2 separate regions of the Homo sapiens genome follow, and region 1 is linked to region 2. Evidence: promoter capture Hi-C in 16 types of primary human blood cells and fetal thymus (Javierre and others, 2016). All regions are on one chromosome and are shown on one strand. The core of a region is centred on a gene start or on the middle of the fragment in contact, and the rest is flanking DNA. Distances in the headings are between cores, read along the strand shown. Region 1 overlaps EGF (epidermal growth factor). Region 2 holds the start of SEC24B (SEC24 homolog B, COPII component).

Region 1 (3,722 bases), core at 1,137-3,636, 530 kb after region 2:
TAGGCAAGAAATAAAATTTTTGGAATCAATTATCCATAAGACCATTCAATGTAAATCTTAACTGATTTAGCAGGTAATACTGCAATGGTGTTGAAAGTTGACAAGACTGATTTTGCATTTAATTTTGTAAAGAGATTTGAAAAAACAGGTTCAAAATAACTAAGGAAATAACACAGACTAGCTAAAAGTAATTATTTGTAACTAAGATGAAGGTGTAACGTTTCACTAGTACATTAGGCCAGTGTTTCTGAAAGTGTGGTGTGAAGCAGCCTCCTGACATCATAATCACTCCTGATTCTGTAAAAATGCAGATTCCTGAGCCTCTGATTTACCAAATCAGAATCTCTAGAGGGTGGCATACTCTCCGGTTATCTCAATGTACACTAGGGACATTTTCAAGGGGGCAAGAATATGTTTCTACTGAATCTTACTGTTATTGGTCATGTCTAGTGATGTTAAATAAAATTTATGGGAGGCAACTGATTTAGACTGAGCTCCTGCAATAGGCCCCAACAGACCAAACCAAAATGAAGTCACTCATGCTAAAATTCCACATCAACACACCAAAACTAACTTGTTTATCTGACCCCCTGACGGATCAGGAGAGAGATGATAGCCAAATCCCCAAACAGGTCAGCTTTAACTGGTATCATAAGGAAATCCCATCTGGTTTAACCTTTACGAGGAAAGTAACCTGAAGTAAACTGATGTTAACCAATCCACTATATATATCATGCTCAAGCAATATCACAAAAGTGAATGTGCTGCCACAGCCAGTGTAGCATCTGTCTATTTTTAGACAAGATGTTGCCCAATTCATGAATCCCAAATAAAAGCCAATTTGATCATTTAATTAAATGTGTTGAAATTTTATCTTTTGAGATTTGAAGTAGAAGCAAATGGGTACAGACAAAGGAGACTTCTTTATTAGTAGATAAACAGATCAGAGAAACCAAGCCTATTTGGAGAACAGTCTCAGGCCCTCTGCCTGCTTTGCTCAGGCTCTTGCTGATTTGTTTCCTGTGTCCTTCCCAGCAATGGTGGTGTTCTCAGCAGTCCTTTCCTTAGGTCCTCAGCTTTTCCCATGATACATCAGCTCTAGCTGATTTTAACAATGCCATGGCTTCAGAATCCATGACCCCAATAGTTTTCCTTGGCCTTCACCTCTTGCCAGGCCTCTGGCCTCTGTATCTACCTGCATTCTAGGTATCTGCCCTTACGCTCAAGCTTGCTACTGTATTTCTCATAGTATTTTACAATGGTGCTATTGTTTTTAAAATGGGCAAAAAATAAGGTGCAAAAGAGACAAAAATCTCATTAACTTTTTGGAAAGAGATATGCAGTTGTCCCCCAGTATCCGTGGGGGATTGGTATCCCCCAAGATACCCAAATCTGCAGATGCTTAAGTTCTAATATAAAACGGTGTATTTGTATATAACCTAGCCACATCCTCCCATATACTTTAAATCATCTCCAAATTACTTATAATACCTAATACAATGCCTACATCACTTCATTCCTGTGAATTCAACATAGTGCTTGGCATGTGGCAAATTCATGTTTTGCTTTTTGGAACTTTGCTTTGTGGAATTTTTTTTCCCAAATATTTTCAGTCCTAAGTTGGTTGAATCCACAGATATGGAGGGCCAACTGTAGGTGTTACTAGTTTAGCCCTTGATTCTGGCTCTGAAAATCCCAATGGTACAAAATTGACCACTTATTCAATATAGCTGGCTAATTCAACCCAAACACCCAACTCGCTGAGCAGATTTTACTGTTTATTATGGAATATTTGGAACACGTGGGACACTGGCAGCAATAACTACAGAAATTTGAGGAGCAGAGATATGGCAATGGTATATATTGAGTCTGAAAGATGTTCATTAAATAATGATGTTAAAAACAGCTAAATAGCTTACATATCTAACCTATAAATATTACACTTAAAAAGTATTCTTGGCCAGGCACAGTGGCTCATGCCTATAATCCCAACACTTTGGGAGGCTGAGGTGGGCAGATCACTTGAGGTAGGAGTTCGAGACCAGCCTGGCCAACCCCGTCTCTACTAAAAATACAAAAATTAGCCAGGTGTGGTGGTGTGCACCTGTAATCCCAGCTACTTAGGAGGCCAAGGCAGGAGAATCGCTTGAACACAGAAGGCTGAGGTTGCAGTGAGCCAAGATTGTGCCACTGCACTCCAGCCTGGGTGACAGGGGGAGACCCTGTCTCAAAAAAAAAAAAAAAAAAAAAGTATTCTTAGGTTTGAATCTGTTTTCATTTCCTAAGCAGATTATTTCATTTGCAGAATGTGTGCTTTTTTGTGATAAAAGTACATTAGAATGAAAAAGCTAATAAGTAGTGTTTAGTATTCGCAACCTAAGAAATGACATCTCCAGCTAATCAGGATGCCCAATCCTGAGAGGTTTTGGAGAAGTAATACAATTGGAGAAAAAAGTGGGCTTCGGGATGCTGGGGAATCTGGGCTCTGGCTAAGTTTGCCTCCGTGAGAGATGCAGCTGTAGACGTTGTAGGGAGGTAAGACCTCTTAAGAATCAGGAAAAGATTTAGCAGTGTCCTCTGTCAAAACACGGCCCCACTCCAAATAAAGCATCTTCTCTTTTAGAGCAGAAACTTTGCAAATTGAGGAAAGGAAACTGCAGCAGCACTGTGTGTGGGCAAGACCTCCAGTCACACTTGTGCATGTGTGCAGAGGGATACGCCCTAAGTCGAGACCGGAAGTACTGTGAAGGTAATGACTGGAAGTACTGTGAAGGTAATGGAAGAGTCGCTGCTTGAGGGGAGGAATGCTCAACTGAGCCAGCGGCTTGTCTTCAGTGGGCCAGCCAGAGACTCAGTGGAAAACCAACTTCAAGTCCATTCTCCCCGTCCCCCACACAACCCCTGAAGACTATTTTTTATTTATTTTTTCTTGTTTGTAAAACCTTTATAATACTTTCCTATCTTCATATCTTGTGTTTCTAGATCAAACACTGAGAGGATGCTTAGGGGTTGATATAAGGCAGGGATTCTCTAAGTGGATTCTACCAACCTCTGCGTTTGTGTGCAAAATTTCAGTATGTGTACATTTTTAGGGGAGTGGTTTCATAGGGATCGTAAGAGTCTCAAAGAGTCTGTGACTCCTATCTTATCCCAAGAAGATCTAGTAGGAAGCCTGGGAAACTGAGCCAGGCTGGTTTGTCTAAGAATCCTCCTGTTTTGAGATTCTGGACCAAGTGCAACGAACTCAGGAGAAATACTATGTCCTTTTTCCTGGAAGGTGCAGTAGTTTAGTGATGAAAAGAATCCAATGGCTGCAGCACACATACAGTGGAATTAGCTGGGGTGAGACCTCAGGTAAATCTAGCATCTGCCTGTTAATTATAACCCCCTGCTTACATGGGACCAATGGGTGAAAGCCATGGCATAGAGATAGTGAGCTGGAAGGCTGGGGCTTCAGCCAGAATAAAACTGCTGGAGAAGGTTTCCACATTTAGGGAAAGGGCTCTGGTCAGTCTTGAAGGTTGAAGAGCACAATAGGAAATGTCCTAAGCTTGTAAAGAGCTTTCAAGAGTCCCTAACTGAAATGGCATGCTATATCTTTTCAAGGGAAATAATACTACCTTTTTCCCAAGGGTTATTCTAATATGAAAATCTGTATTTGAAAGTATAAGCTGGGCCAGGCGTGGTGACTCACACTTGTAATCTCGGCACTTTGGGAAGCC
Region 2 (3,349 bases), core at 164-2,663:
CACGTAATTATAGACCTTAATCCAAATTCAAAGGACTCCTGGGAGATGCTGGAATCTGTAATTGTGTAATCTCTTTGATGAAGCACAGAGTGTGATCTTTTGCTCATGTGGGGCTAGGTTTCTGTGGAGAAGCTGGAAATGCTGTGGAAAAGGGCTTGCCCCTTTTGTGTATATGAACTCTAATGTAGTTGAAATTCCTAGAAGTCAAAGATATAAATCTAACTACTAAAATTCATTTAGTGCATTAAAATGCCAGTTATTAATTTACGGCAACAACTAAAGGGAAGCTTTGTATTATTCTAGGACTACAATGCAATTTATGCTTTGCATAATCATTCAGTAAATGACTTATTGCTCCAGAAATACCATCTTGCTAGATCCCATTCTGAATTCAGTGTTTCTGAGCAATCTCATCTCCAATACAGAGTGATGACATACTCAGGATTCCAAGACGGCAAAATGACTTGGGTAATGTAGTCTAGGGCCTGCCAGTGAGTATGCTGAGACAGACCAGAAAGACTTAAAGATTCCACTAATGTAGACAAAGCAAGCTGAGCCACAACTTCTCGGAACACCAACAGGATGCACCAACAATCGACAAAAAAAAAAAAAAAAAAGGAGATAAAGTTTAAAGTTTGTCTTCCAGCATTCCCTTACCCTATTTTCCCCTTCCTCTTCCCTACTTTATCAGTGGGAAAAGTTCTCAATAATGCAATTCTTACTGAGATTCTTGTGTTTATCAGAGAAATGTTTCCTCTTTCTTTGCCAAGGAATTATATATTCCCAACAGACATGGCGCTTGAATGCTATATTTCCTTTGGAATCAAGAAAGGGGAGGTGGGGGAATCAAAAATTAAAAACCAAACCCAAGCCATTGTTCCTCTTCGAGGAAGGGTGGGTGGTCAGTCGTCGCCTGAGCTCCGAACATCAACCCGCGGCTCTCAAGTTCCCCTCCCAGTAATGCTGGGCCCAGCCTCGCCGCGGCCGATCCAGCCTCTGCCCTAGGTGGAAGCGGGCCACCCGGTCCCTTCACCCACTGAGGCCCAGTCCTTTCGCCTCAACACGAAGGCACCTGGCCGGGCCGGAGCAGCAGCCGCGGGGCCGGCACTGGGGCCACGGAACCCCGGGCCAGACTCAGGCCTGGGCCAGCTCGGCTCCGGCCTGCAGGGGGCGCTGCGGCGGCACCGGCGCGAGGCCCGCGCGTGCGGGGAGCGACCCCAGGTGTAAGTCCCGGGGCGTGGGGCGCGTGGGTCAAGGCGGAGCGACCCAGGATCCCCGCGCCCGCGGCGGCCGCCGAGTGGCAGCGCTGGACTCGCGGAGAAGCTTGGGTACCTGAGCCGCGGTCCCGGGTGACACCCTCAGTGACGCCAGGCGCGTTCCTTCCTCTTCCTCTCTCCTCTCCGGCCCCGCCTTCCCTTCCCTCCGCCCACCTCCCTGAAGCGGAGCCGCCGTCGCCACCAGCGCCGTCATGTCGGCCCCCGCCGGGTCCTCTCACCCGGCCGCCAGCGCCCGGATCCCGCCCAAGTTCGGCGGAGCGGCCGTCTCAGGAGCCGCAGCGCCCGCGGGCCCGGGTGCGGGCCCGGCGCCGCACCAGCAGAACGGTGAGGCGGGCGGCCCGGGCGGAGCGCGGGGCCTAGCACCGGCTGGGCGGCCTGCACGGCCACATCGGGGCGGGGCGGGCCGGGCCGGGAAGGGCGTTCGGGGCCAGGCCCGGCCCGAGGGACGGGAGCGGGCGCGGTGCGGAGGCCGCGGGGTCCGGGTTGGGTGCGGGTAGGGGGCAGGGAAGGCACGGCGCGGGGCGCGCGGGGGTGGGACGCCCCTGGCGTGGGGGCGGGGGCCGGCCTGGGAAAGCTGGGGCCGTGGCTGTTTATGTAATGCGACCCCAGGCCCGAAACGGCCTCGGGCGAGTAGGGGCGACTGAAAAGCTGGGAGCCCACGTAGTAAAACCCAGTTACCTAGCCTGGACGCGGGCGAGTTGCCCCGAGCGACCCCTTGGCTGCGAGAGCTGGCCAGAAGCCGAGGCCGCTGAGTGCGTGGTCCGGAGAAGGCTGGTGCAGCCACCCAGCAGGGTGGATTGTGCCCTTCCTGTCTCAGGAAAATTGCTTCGGTTCCCGAGGCCCAGCGAACACGCTGCCTTGAGGAAACTTAAGTTTGCACTCAAGTTTGTAGACAAAAGGGTGTAAATATGCTATATAAGTGTAACTGTAACCCTGACCCAGTTCGGCCTCAAGAACTGTCATTGCCGCTGCGGCTGCTGCTCAAGCTTTTGGAGTTTGCTTGTAGTGTTTGAAAGGGAGCAGATGTAAACGGATTTAAACGAACATCTTTAGATCTGGGTGTTTTTCCTAGCTCCACTTTCAGAGATGAAAAAACGTGCCAGAGTTGGCCCTGCTTTGAGGCAGGGCCTTCATACAGGCAGCAGCCAAATGCAGCACGAAAGCCGCTTTCATATTAAGGTCGTGGGCTTTTAGTAGGCTGCAAAATGATGGATATGCATTCCCTAATGCTGAGATTTGGAATGTTCGCGGATAGGGGCCAAGGGTGGAGGAATTCTCCTTACAGACTTCTTAGTATGTCAGATGAGAACCTTGGAAAGTAATTGACTGAATTTAGAAAAATACCTCTGTCCTGTGTTGGTACGAGAACCAAACTGCATTAGTACTCTCCAGATGATTGACCTGTTTTATCTAATTTCCTAATGAAAATCTGCTGGACTTTATGAATTAGTTTAATCAACATCTAAGTTTTACAACTGATGCTTTTCAAACATGAAGTGTATCGTTTGTCCTGAGGATCAGAAGTTGAGTGATACTTTAGCCTTAATATTCTTTGGATCAGCCTTACCTATCAGTATTACATGCTGTACTCTCAGTAGTCATTGTTTACTATAATCGCTTTTGGATATAAACCTGTTCTGAACAAATGTAAAAATACTATTTGTGAGCAGTGTTTGTTCTTGTAACCTTAATATAAGTTCTTGTTTTTGTTTGTTTTTAAAATAGCTTTATGAAGGAACTAGAACACGATAATTTAGTAAAAGAGCCCAAGTCTTTTAGAACATTGTAGACTCATGTTTACCAGTGATTCAAGGATTGTGTCTTTCCTTGATTTTCTGAATATGCATTATCATCTTAGTGAACAGTTTTTAAAGTGGCAAATGTTTATTACAGCCTTATAAATTTTGTGAACACTCAAGAATGCCAGGATATGTACTCAGCCAAGTGTAATCAGGATGTTAAAATCTGTAAGAACAAATCAATGTTTTGATGCCAAATATAGATGATGCTTGAGTTCTCTTGTTTATAATCACTACTTTCCTTTAATGTTGCAATAATCATTTCAACATTTA

What was found. Contacts are between HindIII fragments. The CHiCAGO score rates a contact against its expected background, and 5 or more counts as called.
Region 1: a contact is called between a fragment that was not itself captured here and the fragment with the promoter of SEC24B in region 2, in 1 of 17 cell types (M2 macrophages). The highest score is 5.4, in M2 macrophages.

Annotation. Positions count from the first base shown.
Region 1 is chr4:109,956,689-109,960,410 of GRCh38, forward strand. EGF (epidermal growth factor) reads left to right here. Exons shown (of 24, transcript NM_001963.6): 6 at 2,624-2,749. Among named protein-coding and RNA genes, the nearest start is that of EGF, 46 kb to the left of the region's middle. RefSeq lists an enhancer at 2,433-2,602. The HindIII fragment of the contact is 2,323 bases long and covers 1,226-3,548 here.
Region 2 is chr4:109,432,402-109,435,750 of GRCh38, forward strand. It overlaps SEC24B (SEC24 homolog B, COPII component), which reads left to right and starts at 1,414. Exons shown (of 24, transcript NM_006323.5): 1 at 1,414-1,601. The coding sequence starts at 1,469. SEC24B-AS1 (SEC24B antisense RNA 1) reads right to left here and starts at 1,416. Exons shown (of 3, transcript NR_039978.1): 1 at 1,333-1,416. RefSeq lists silencers at 1,044-1,433, 1,484-1,753, 2,132-2,426 and enhancers at 1,308-2,167, 2,244-2,393. The HindIII fragment of the contact is 940 bases long and covers 1,322-2,261 here.